3 separate regions of the Homo sapiens genome follow, and regions 1 and 2 are each linked to region 3. Evidence: promoter capture Hi-C in human tissues and cell types (Jung and others, 2019). All regions are on one chromosome and are shown on one strand. The core of a region is centred on a gene start or on the middle of the fragment in contact, and the rest is flanking DNA. Distances in the headings are between cores, read along the strand shown. Region 1 has its middle 5.8 kb from the start of MIR4289. Region 2 has its middle 100 kb from the start of LINC02834. Region 3 holds the start of CTSL (cathepsin L).

The links. Contacts are between HindIII fragments. The study calls those that stand out against the background at their distance.
Region 1: a contact is called between a fragment that was not itself captured here and the fragment with the promoter of CTSL in region 3, in 1 of the 25 tissues and cell types used here (lymphoblastoid cells).
Region 2: a fragment that was not itself captured here is called in contact with the fragment with the promoter of CTSL in region 3 in 1 of the 25 tissues and cell types used here (mesenchymal stem cells).

Annotation. Positions count from the first base shown.
Region 1 is chr9:88,738,115-88,741,994 of GRCh38, forward strand. No RefSeq gene overlaps it. Among named protein-coding and RNA genes, the nearest start is that of MIR4289, 5.8 kb to the right of the region's middle. The HindIII fragment of the contact is 3,956 bases long and covers 1-3,682 here.
Region 2 is chr9:86,602,199-86,606,014 of GRCh38, forward strand. No RefSeq gene overlaps it. Among named protein-coding and RNA genes, the nearest start is that of LINC02834, 100 kb to the right of the region's middle. The HindIII fragment of the contact is 4,548 bases long and covers 259-3,816 here.
Region 3 is chr9:87,724,415-87,728,039 of GRCh38, forward strand. CTSL (cathepsin L) reads left to right here and starts at 1,705. Exons shown (of 8, transcript NM_001912.5): 1 at 1,705-1,984; 2 at 3,180-3,315; 3 at 3,613-3,625. The coding sequence starts at 3,190. RefSeq lists promoters at 1-1,778, 129-1,750, 233-1,778, 245-1,677, 447-1,778 and 7 more, cis regulatory regions at 694-696, 762-764, 921-1,108, 1,106-1,113, 1,185-1,335 and 12 more and an enhancer at 1,496-2,017. The HindIII fragment of the contact is 7,957 bases long and covers 1-3,625 here.

The DNA of each region.
Region 1 (3,880 bases), core at 455-2,954, 1.0 Mb after region 3:
AGTCTACAGCTGCTTCCTGTGCATTTCACAACGCCCAGTACAGCACTCAGGATGGGATTTGATTCCTGAAAATAGCCTTTGTTAACTACTTCAGCCTATACACAATATTTTAAGTGAAGGGGTGGAAACAAGTTTTTGAAATATTTTTAATGTGTATTAGGATTTCATAAATTTGATAACAGAAAAAGCCTTTTTGTAGTTGTTTTTTGTTTTACCTTTTTTCCTAAGTAATCCTTTGAAATGTGGGCATTTAAAGAAGAAATTAAAGTTTCTCTGGACACAAGATTCTGCTTTAGAAGAATTTCTCCAGAGAGTTCTCAAATCGATTCTTTTCTTTCCTAGAAAAATGTAAACAACCACAATTGTTGGGAACCATCCTGTGTTGGAAGGTTTTGCCATTGATGGTCTGTCCAGGTGATTTTAACTTTCTCTTATATGTTTCTTCATTCATCTTTTAGCACCTGTGATGATATTTTTGGGATTAAGCAGCAGATAATTTTTCAATCGAAGGAGTGAGTGACATGAAGACGACGCTGGTTTGGGCTCAACTTCAAGAACTCTCCTGTAGCAGGGCATGGCTTATTTACAATGGAAGGAGCCTGACTGCTGGACGGCACCAGCAGAGAGAGGTTGCCCCCTCTGATGTAAAAGCTGGAACTCCTTTCCCGCCCTAATTCTAAACCACTTACTTTAAAATGACTTCCATGTGGTATGGACAGAAATGCAAATGGAGCAATCACATTTCCTTTGCAAGTATTAGGCTGCACATTTTTTTTTTAACAGAAAGAATGTCAATAAAAGATCTAGGTCTCTGATAACAACACATGGGCCCAATTATTTCAGAAACCAGTTTTATCCTACATGATCCAGAGCACTGGGGACTTTCCAGCATTTTCCATTGTGCAGTCTCTCAAAGTTCAGACTTAGGATTCTTACGTAAAGCATCACTTTTTCACTTAACCCATCCTATTCCCCTGCCCCCAAATTCCAAATGTCTGTTTTTATTTCACATTTTTAAGCTTACTTAATTGACAAATAATAATTGTATATATTTGGGTACAGTGTAATGTTTTGATATATTTTTACATTATGGAATGTTTTAATGTATGCTTCATTAACGGTGAAATGATTTCTGCTAACTATCCCTCATTTTGCAATCCTGAGCAGTTAATGGGAGAAAACAAAAACAACAATTTATGCATCTCTAAGTAGCATGAGTTCAAACGGGCCTTGTCGGAATCTAAGTGAGCCATCTGCCAGTTAAAAGTCGGACTTTCTGTCTTTTTTAACCATGGAAGAGAGTTTATTTTCCAGCTGAACACATTTTTAAAAGGGCTTTTAAGAAGCTAATCATATTAGGGGTCGTCCAGATATCATTGCCTGGGGCACAGGGGGCCACCCAGCCTCCTGTCTAGATAGAGATAGCTTCTCTCTGGAATCTCTTTGTCTTACCCCTTTCTGATGGCCACACCCCAGGGTGCTCTAGGACCAAGATCTCTGAAGCACTGGCCCTCCCTCCTGGCTATCTTGACATTTCTCTCCTCTCTCTTCCCCAATTTCTCACTGTTGCTCTACCCAGAAACAAATTTGCTAATAATCATTTTAAAAATGCACATTTTTGCACACCTCCCCACAGTTGGAAAAACAACCCTTTATGTCAAATGCACATGTGAGCTTCCAAAGCACAGTCATATTTTGTTCTCACTTAATCTTCACCCAAACCCAATGAAGCTACTTACAGTCACTGCCTGCTTTCCAGAAATAAAGAAACGAGGCTCCCAGGACAATGAGATCAGCCCAGGGATGTGCCCTTTGTATGTGGTAGAGCCATCTGTGGACACAAGGTGCAAATGGTATTCAGGATGCATAAGTCACTCGGTTCAGGGGCCTTGCCACATCTAGCTGAGTCTTCCTTGTGCTGTGGTCTCTTGCCCCCAGTCCGTCTCAGCTCCTGCCACTCCCTGGACCCCAGTCACATGGTTGATCCCCAAATGTAGGGAGGACATTACATCCTTGAAATACATGGTTACTAAGGATGTGGAATTGTAATGTGCCAGGTGGGGGCAGATCCAGGACATAACATTATAAAGGCAAACTCACCTGAGAAAGGTTACTTAGAATGAGAAAAGAAATCACAGTAAATTATGTATTTTTGAACAAATACCATGGATTTCACAGTATCATAAAAATAACATTTTTATAAGTTGACACACCTCTGAAATACTTGCTTCTTGAGGAATTGTACTGCATTGGTGGTGATTTGCGTGTTTCATCAGGAACTGTCTACTTCTTGAGGACAAGATTCATTAGAATTCCTAATTTGCCAATTGCTACTCTGTGGTGGGTAAGATGTGCCTTTTAAAAGTAATGCTATGGTGCTTTGCCTGACAAAAGAGGAGTTCTGATAAGTTTTATTGCACGTGACTTTCATCAAAATGGAGAAAAATATGTTGTGTTTATAATTAAATTTACTGCACTTTAAGCATTTTCCTGACCAGAAAACTTAGCTTTTGCCTAGACATCAGTGAGAACTGCTTACTCCTTATAAATGTAAAGACTGAGATAATTTTCTATAGACTAGCTCCTGGCCCTTTGAAGCATGTTTCTCTTCCACCACCCACATGTATGGAGCTGTAGGAAATAAGAGTACCTTCACACTGAGACACGAGAGGACTGGCACAGTCTGCAGGGTACCATTCCACGAAGTCGTTCCTCTGGATTGGCTAGCAGTAAGTTACTTATACATGGAAGTGACTAAGCTGTGAAAATATCCCCAACAGTCCAATTAAGCATGTCCCTTGAACCTTCCCATTAGCTGGATCTCGAAATGCCTGCGGCCACTCTGATGTCCCCCAACATGAGGGACAGTGTGAGTGAAGGGCAGTGGGAATGAGCATTGGAAACCAGTTGCCATGACAACACTGCTCTTTTCAAATCTCACAGAAGCAAGAACACGCAAACACGTTGTTGGGGGTCCCACCTATGGCCTTAGAAGCGTCCTGTGCAAGTGATGGGTTGGGAGTGAACACCTCATCAGCTTCAGAGTTGGAGGGGGATGCTCTACGCAGGGGCCGGGGGTTATGGGTGAATTGTGACTTCCCCACAAATTCATTTGTTGGACACCTAACCCCAGTACCTCAGAATATGACTGGAGTTGGAGATAGGATAAAGAGGTGATTAAAATGAGACTGTCAGGGTGGACCCTAACGCAATATGACTGGTGTCCTTGTCAAGAAGAGGGGATGAGGACACATGCATGGAAGGATGACCATGTGAGGGCACAGGGAGAAGACTGCCACCTGCAAGGCAAGGAGTGAGGCCTGAGCCCATTTTTCCTCACAGTCCTTAGCAGAACCAACCCTGCTGACACCTTGCTCATGGGGTTCCAGCCTCCAGAACTGTGGGATAAGAGATTTCTGTTGTTTTAGCGCCCCCTTGTGTGGTTCTTTGTTGTGGCAGCCCCAGGAAGCAAATAAGTGGGACACCTGGGATGCTGTATTGGATATTTGCGGTTGAGTTGTAGGCGAGTGTTTAGTTTTTCAAAAGTATTTTGTGTGTCTATCTATATACTCTTTTACATACCAGCAATTAGAGTTTGCACAAGATATAAAAGAAATCTCTGCCTCTTGTACTGACAGTCTAGTGGAAGACATAGACACACATAAATTTGTTATCATAATTATAAATAAAATATGTGTACAACAACAAAAATACATTAGTGCAGTGTGGATGCATCATAATTTTTATGTCAATCTTATTCACGATTCAGGCCAAGTGGTATGCCAAGATCACATCCTTTTCTCTGTGGGAGTCTGTGTGCCGCTAGAAGACAAACCTTCCTTTTCAGAAACAAATGCATTGCTTTTGTTATCCTCCCAGA
Region 2 (3,816 bases), core at 1,283-3,782, 1.1 Mb before region 3:
GCAATAGATATATATTTTAGGCTTGGCAGTCTAGAGGCAGATGCTACCAATTGTGTGCATGTGTGTGTGTGGTACAACTCTAGCAGTTAAAAACATTTTATATATTAATATATGAAAGCACGCACCTCTGTAGAGACATTGCATTTATTTATCAATTATATACATGTCCTCCTGTACCAATATATAATGTATATTAAAACTCCCAGAGAAGTAGAACATTTAGGAGAATAAGTGAAGAATAAAAATAACTAGAAGTTCTATTATTTTCTTACCAGAAGTCTTGTGCACTCCAGGGGAATTATGCTCACCCTACTTTGGGATCCACTGCTCTGGAGAACTCAGTGAAACATGGGCCCTCAAATACTCTTCAGTCGAGCCCCCTCTGTGTGCGGAGCTGAAGGAGCATGGGACTGGGAGTTAGTTCACAGGGGCTGGATCTGGCTTCCTATGTAGCTCATAACTGCCACTTTATTTCTTTTGAGTTTTGTTTTGTGGAATAAAAATGAAAGGGGTTGAATTTACTTAATTTACTTTGAGGTTCTTTGCAACTCTAATAATCTATGATTTTAGAGAGCTAAATTTTGGGGCCCTTGGGCAAAATGACAACTCTAGGGGAGGCCAGAAAAGGTGGTGCAGTGGAATTGTTGGAAATGGGTGGGTGTCCAAGAATCAGACAGAGGAAGGAGAGGATTCCTAAGTGGGGTGGAGGCAGCTCCAGGAAAGAGCTGACTCAGGAATGAAGGTGGCAGGCATGGGAAACCATGAAGCAGAAAAATTGCAGGCTGGTGGAAAATGCCTTTGGGTAGGTAAGAAATGAAGGGTAGAATGGTTAATTTTATGTGTGTCAACTTGGCTGGGCCATGGTGTCCAGAAAAACATTATTAGGATAAACATTTTGGATGTTTCTGTGAAGGTGTTTTTTTGGGGTGAGATTAACATTTATGCTTGGTCTGACAAATAAGATGTCAGTGGAAATGGCCTTTCCCTGGTGCCAGCTGTGGCCAATTATTTTTTAGTGAGGCAGTTTAACAACTGCCTGACCATCATCTGATTGTCACCTGACATTTCTGATGGGGGACGGGGTGGGGGCTGGGGGGAGCCCTCTCCTGCCTTGCTCTCATGTCTAACTAGTGACCTACTGTAAGAGTATGTAAGATGAATTGAAAATGAAAAAAGTCCGGAAATAACATAGAAGCCTGAAAGATTGGTGCATGAATTCATTTATTCATTCTGTCAATCAAGCATTAAGTCTTGAATATATCACTGTGGCATACTTAACGTATGTCAGGGTAATAGATGAGAACAAGAGTCAGGTCCTTTGCCTTCGTAGGGCTCTTAGAATTGAGTGAGGGAGACACACATTAAACAAACACACATTAATATTTACTTAAAAAGTATAATAAACACTATTAAAATGAAGAGACTGCTCATAAGAACAAAAAATAAATTAGTGACATAATTCTCAAGAAGGAAGAGAAAGGGTATATTTAAGAGAGATAGCAAAGGAATAATAACAGGGTTTGGAAATATTTTGGGAATCAACATGTAGGGATTTGAAGAGTCAAAGATGGCCCCAAGGTATCTAGGCTGGGAGGAAACTGTTCTGTCCAGTTCCCTACATTCTGGACTTTGATGATTGTATCTGCTGGTGTCATTTGCCATGTTCTTCTAGCCCTGTGTTTCCTGTAAACTGTTAGCTTCACCTGGAGCCTTGATTAGATTCAGGTTCAATGTTTGTGGCTAGAATGTATCACAGATGGGGGCTCTCTCCTCCCTATTGCCTCACAGTAGGAGGTGACTACTATTTGATAGCCATTGTTTGAGGTTAATGTTGATCAGTGGCTTAAGGTATTGCCAGCCTGACCCATCCATTCTACAGTTCCTTATCAGTCTTTCACCTGATGGTTCTATTAACCACTGATGATCATTAAGGGCTGGAAAAGGATGACTTTCTAATTCCGTGATTCCGTCTGTATTTATTGGCTAGAATTCCCTCACTGCTGTCCCAAAGCAGAACAACTAGGCATTTATGAGGGCATATGAGAGGGATTTGCCCTTGGGCCCTTGTGGGAGCCGGTGAGATGGTCTTTGTGCCTGGTGTTGAAACAGTTGGAAGGGACAGAGCATCAAAGTGGGGACAGCAAGGACAAGCTGGGACCCACCAGCAGGAGCAAGACCATGGGGATGGACTAGAGCTCTTGTCAGTCTCTCAGCTCTTTCCACCTCAATGATGTGGGTGGTCTCTAGCAAAGAAGGTACCTGGCTCAGGGGTTGGAGAAGGTGAAGGAGAATCTGGGGAAATGGAGCAGCTGCAGGCCCAGCTGCTGCCTGTGTCAATAGGAAGTTCCACAGAGAGAAGCGGGAGCTGCAGTAGCACCTACGAGACCTCCACCAACCTTCTGAGTGTAATATTATCAGGCTGCTTCACTTCCACCTTCCAAATCTCTCACAAAATGTCTTTGGTGGCCCTCCTTCAATTCTGCTTAGTCTTTATCTCAATCACATGAGCAGGATGCCCCATTTCTTTCTTGCTGTTATATCAATTGGGCATTACAGCTGTAACACCAGCTCTAACAAGGATTCTTTGCACCAAGTTAACAATGCTTAAATATTATTCCTTTCTTCTGTCATTACAACAACAAAGTTTCATAATTAGGCCTTTCCTGTAGAGTCACCATTTTGTTATGAAGGGGGCAGACTTGAAGTAGTAAATTATAGTTTTAGTGAAAACACATTTTTCCACCAGGGTGAGGATATGTGGTTACAACACTCCCTCAAATGAATAAAAACCCAAACAAACCAAAAATTCCTGTCCCAAAGTATCAGAAAATGGATCTTTCTGTGAACTCACTAGTGATGGTGGTAAGATGTGCAGATATAGTTTATTGCTGATGCTGAATCATATACAAGAAACACACCATCTCCTAAAGACTATGCTGGATTTCAAGCATTCTTTCAGGTATTATAGTTGAATGTAGCAACAACAATTAAGGTAATCTAATTAGAAGCTTAGAATACTCCTTAATTCGCATCTCTGTGGTGCCTTTTGCAGAAGAAATTCCACTGCTCTCAAAGGAGGTTTCAAATCCTTAGAAAGGTGATTTCTATTCATTGGTTTAATTTTGATTCTTAATCTCCTCTCGGAATAATTTCCACACTTCTGAAAGTTGACTTCTATTCTGCCCTAACTAGCTCTGTGATCATACTCATAGGCTCCAGAGCCCCACCTGTCACATCTTGAAATGATAGGGTTGGACATGGATGGTTCTTAATGCTTCTAATGGCTTTAACGATATGTGTGACTATGACAGATTAAATGACCACTTTCCCATAACCATCGGGTTTCTCTCTCCATGCTGCCAGAAGACAAATTTATGGCCCCATGTGACCTATAATTAGTACTAAGCTTATTTCTGGCTCAACTTAATACATACTTTTGTTTTCTCTTTATTATTTCTCTTATCTAGAGCTTTTTCATGCTCTTTCATTGTTCTTTATGTTACTCCTGCAAACTATCTTAAATAAACTTTGGAAAACAGTAGGGTATAAATAAATACGCATTTATTCCTATTTTATAATACAGAATTAACAATACAAGATTATAATTATGAAATCACTTCCCAATGACTCGATGTAGAAAATTGAAAATGGATTTCTTTCTTTCTTTCTTTCTTTTTTTTTTTTGTGAGCTGGAGTCTCGTTCTGTTGCCCAGGCTGGAGTGCAGTGGTATGATCTCGACTCACTGCAACCTCCGCCTCCCGGGTTCAAGTGATTCTCCTGCCTCAGCCTCTCAAGCAGCTGGGACTACAGGCGCA
Region 3 (3,625 bases), core at 455-2,954:
TCACACCTGTAATTCCAGCACTCTGGGAGGCCAAGGCAGGCGAATCACGAGGTCAGGAGTTCAAGACCAGTCTGGTCAATATGGTGAAACCCCATCTCTACTAAAAATACAAAAATTAGCCAGGCGTGGTGGTGCGCGCCTGTAGTCCCAGCTCCTCTGGAGGCTGAGGCAGAGGAATCACTTGAACCCAGGAGGCAGACATTGCAGTGAGCTGCGATTGCGCCACTGCACTCCAGCCTGAACAACAGAGCCAGACTCCGTCTCAAAAAAAAAAAAAGAGGAATAATCTCCAAAATAGTAAACAAATTCCTGCAGACAGGAAATATAATGGTAGATACCTGAGCTAGGAGAGGGGGAATGGGGAACTATTATTCAATGGATACAGTTTCAGTTTAGGAAGATAAACAAGCTCTGGGAATAAACAGTAGTAATGGTTACACAATGTGAAGGTACTTAATGCTACTGAACTCAAAGTTGGTTAAAATGGTACTTGCTATGTGAGGTATATTTTACCACTTAAAAAACTATAGGTGATTGTGCTTCTAAAAGAGTTATCAGTTTAATCTTCAATAGAAATCAATGGACTTTGTTCATTTTTAACAAAGTCAAAATATGCATACGAAAAGGTTATGGGGTAAAGGCAGAGGTAATTATTTTTTTCCCCGAAAGGTATTTTCTACAATGAATGTTTTTATGTAATAAAAAATGAAATGACAAAAGTTTAGAATGTTTGTGGGTTTTGTTCCTTAAATCCTTAATTACATAAATTAATATCTACATTATACAGATTAAGATACATATTTTTCCTCTATCTACAACATTTCTCCATTCTCTGTATCTTAAATCCTGACATTAAATGTCATTAAATTTCTTAAATCTCAAGAGAACGACTTGGTTACCAAGGAAGATATAATCCATAGCCTAGAGAGTGGGCGAATAAAAGCAGCTTCTAATGTTCTCAACTGCTTTTCTCCTGTCAACCAAATGTTTCTGTAAATAACTCATTTCTGTTGGTTTTGGGTAAGACGTGGGAGAAGGAAGAATCCCTGAATGGAGGAGTCTGGAAAGGATGCTTGACAAAACGCCCGCGCTCTCTGGAGACGCAGCCAGTCTCCTCCCTCCTAGGGTCTGGTCTTGACGATAGCATCTCGTGTTTTGGGGATGCCTTTCCTTACCAGATTCTTCTAAAGCCCAGCTGCACCCACCCTTAAGTGGGAGATAAGGCTTCTGCCCGCGGGCTCTGCGTTCGTCCACCCGGCCCCACGTTTGCTGTGGACTAAACAGGAGCCACTGGACTAGAGTACACTTGACTCTCGGCTCTGCGGACCAAAAATTCCAGGACTAAGGAATAGCAAGGTTAGGCTGAAACAGTCCACACAGGGCTTGCGGTAAACGTCTTTTCAGGAGCCACTCGCCCAGTGCAGTAAGTCGTGTACTTAGTTGACTCGAGCGCTCCAGGGAGACGCCCGACCCTACTCTGCGCCGCCCCGGGGCACCAGCTCTGCTTCCTCCAGGTCCACTGAGGCAGGCACGCCCAGCTCTGGGACAGTCAGTAAACAAGCCACGAACCGCGCCAGGGATCAGAGCACCCAGAGTCCCCGCCCAGCTGCCGGCACAGCCAATCGCAGCGCAGCCAGGCGGCGGGGCGGTGCCGGCCGAACCCAGACCCGAGGTTTTAGAAGCAGAGTCAGGCGAAGCTGGGCCAGAACCGCGACCTCCGCAACCTTGAGCGGCATCCGTGGAGTGCGCCTGCGCAGCTACGACCGCAGCAGGAAAGCGCCGCCGGCCAGGCCCAGCTGTGGCCGGACAGGGACTGGAAGAGAGGACGCGGTCGAGTAGGTGTGCACCAGCCCTGGCAACGAGAGCGTCTACCCCGAACTCTGCTGGCCTTGAGGTGGGGAAGCCGGGGAGGGCAGTTGAGGACCCCGCGGAGGCGCGTGACTGGTTGAGCGGGCAGGCCAGCCTCCGAGCCGGGTGGACACAGGTACCGCAGCCAGGCCGCGCCGCGCCGACTCAGGGCCTGGCCCGGCCAGACAGGGAAGCTCAGTCCCCGCACGCCAGACAGCGGTACTCCTGCTGGCGTCACCGCAAACATCCTCTGACCGCTACAGCCAGTGTGTGGCGCAGGCGTCATGTCCCCGGCCCTGCCACGCCTGGAGCCCTGGAAGCTGGCTGCAGGGCGCTGGCTTCCCGCGTGCGGCCATATGACCCCGTCCCTGATTTAGGGGAGCAGTTTGGGGTGTCGGCAGCACAGGCCCAAGTGAATGAAGGAGGGAGCAGTGCGTGCTCTCCTTCCCAGTTTTTCCTGGGAAAGCATTTCAGAAAGGTTTCATTTAAGGAGAGGTTGGGGCGGCGCGGTGGCTCACTCCTGTAATCCCAGCACTTTGGGAGGCTGAGGTGGGCGGATCACCTGAGGTCAGTAGTTCGAGACCAGCCTGGCCAACATGGTGAAACCCCGTCTCTACTGAAAATACAAAATTAGACGGGCGAGGCGGCGCACGCCTGTAGTTCCAGCTATTCAAGAGGCTGAGGAAGAATGGCTTGAACCCGGGAGGCAGAGGTTGCTGTGAGCCGATATCGCGCCGTTGAACTCCAGCCTGGGCCACAGAGCAAGACTCCATCTCAAAAAATAAATAAATAAATAAATAAATAAATAAATAAATAAATAGGAGAGATTGGAAAACTTATCTCAGCTTTTGGTGTTTGTTAGTCAGGAAGATGTGTGAAGGCCTCCTAACTCTTGGGGATCTCTTTGTCCCTACTTGGGAATCCCACCTTATCATTAGTGAGGTTTTGCCTGGGCACGAAACCTGGATTTTTTGCGATTGGTACAAAACCTGGATCAACCGTTTCCCGGTTTCCTAGTTGTTGCCTTAAGCTTCTCACACACAAGGTAGTTTCATACCGTTCTCATAACCTAAATTGTCATCGCATAAACTGTTTCAGCTCCTACAGCTCTGGACAGGCTGCTTTTCATTTTGGTGAGTCCATCCAGTACCTCCACGTGCCCTGTTTTTCTCCAGGCACATCCTTGGCCTCTTCCACAGTCCTTGGGTAAATGCTTGGGAGAATAATTTAAATATTTTTATTCTACCATGGTGGCCCTAATTTTTCAGGGGGCAGTAAGATGGCTTTTTAGGATTGGTCTAATCAGATCCTCATTTTTGTTCCCTTCCTAGGTTTTAAAACATGAATCCTACACTCATCCTTGCTGCCTTTTGCCTGGGAATTGCCTCAGCTACTCTAACATTTGATCACAGTTTAGAGGCACAGTGGACCAAGTGGAAGGCGATGCACAACAGATTATACGGCATGGTTAGTGAAACTTCCCCAGAAAGAATAGTCCTGGCTGTTGAGAAGTTTTAGTCAGAGAGTAGCTTCTAGAGGCCAGCTTTTACCAATAGCCTAATGTAATAACCTAATGGCGTGGATTATGAGCACAATGTGGACATTCATCCTTGTTGTGTCTCAGTTTGGAGAACAGCATCCCCAGAGGTGTCAAGCCTTCCCTTGCCATGGTTTCTCTTCCATCTCTGTCTGCAGATTCACTTGGTGAGGATGAGTTGGGTTTTAGGTAGAAGTAAAGAGCATCAGTTACATGTTTGCCTCTAGAATGAAGAAGGAT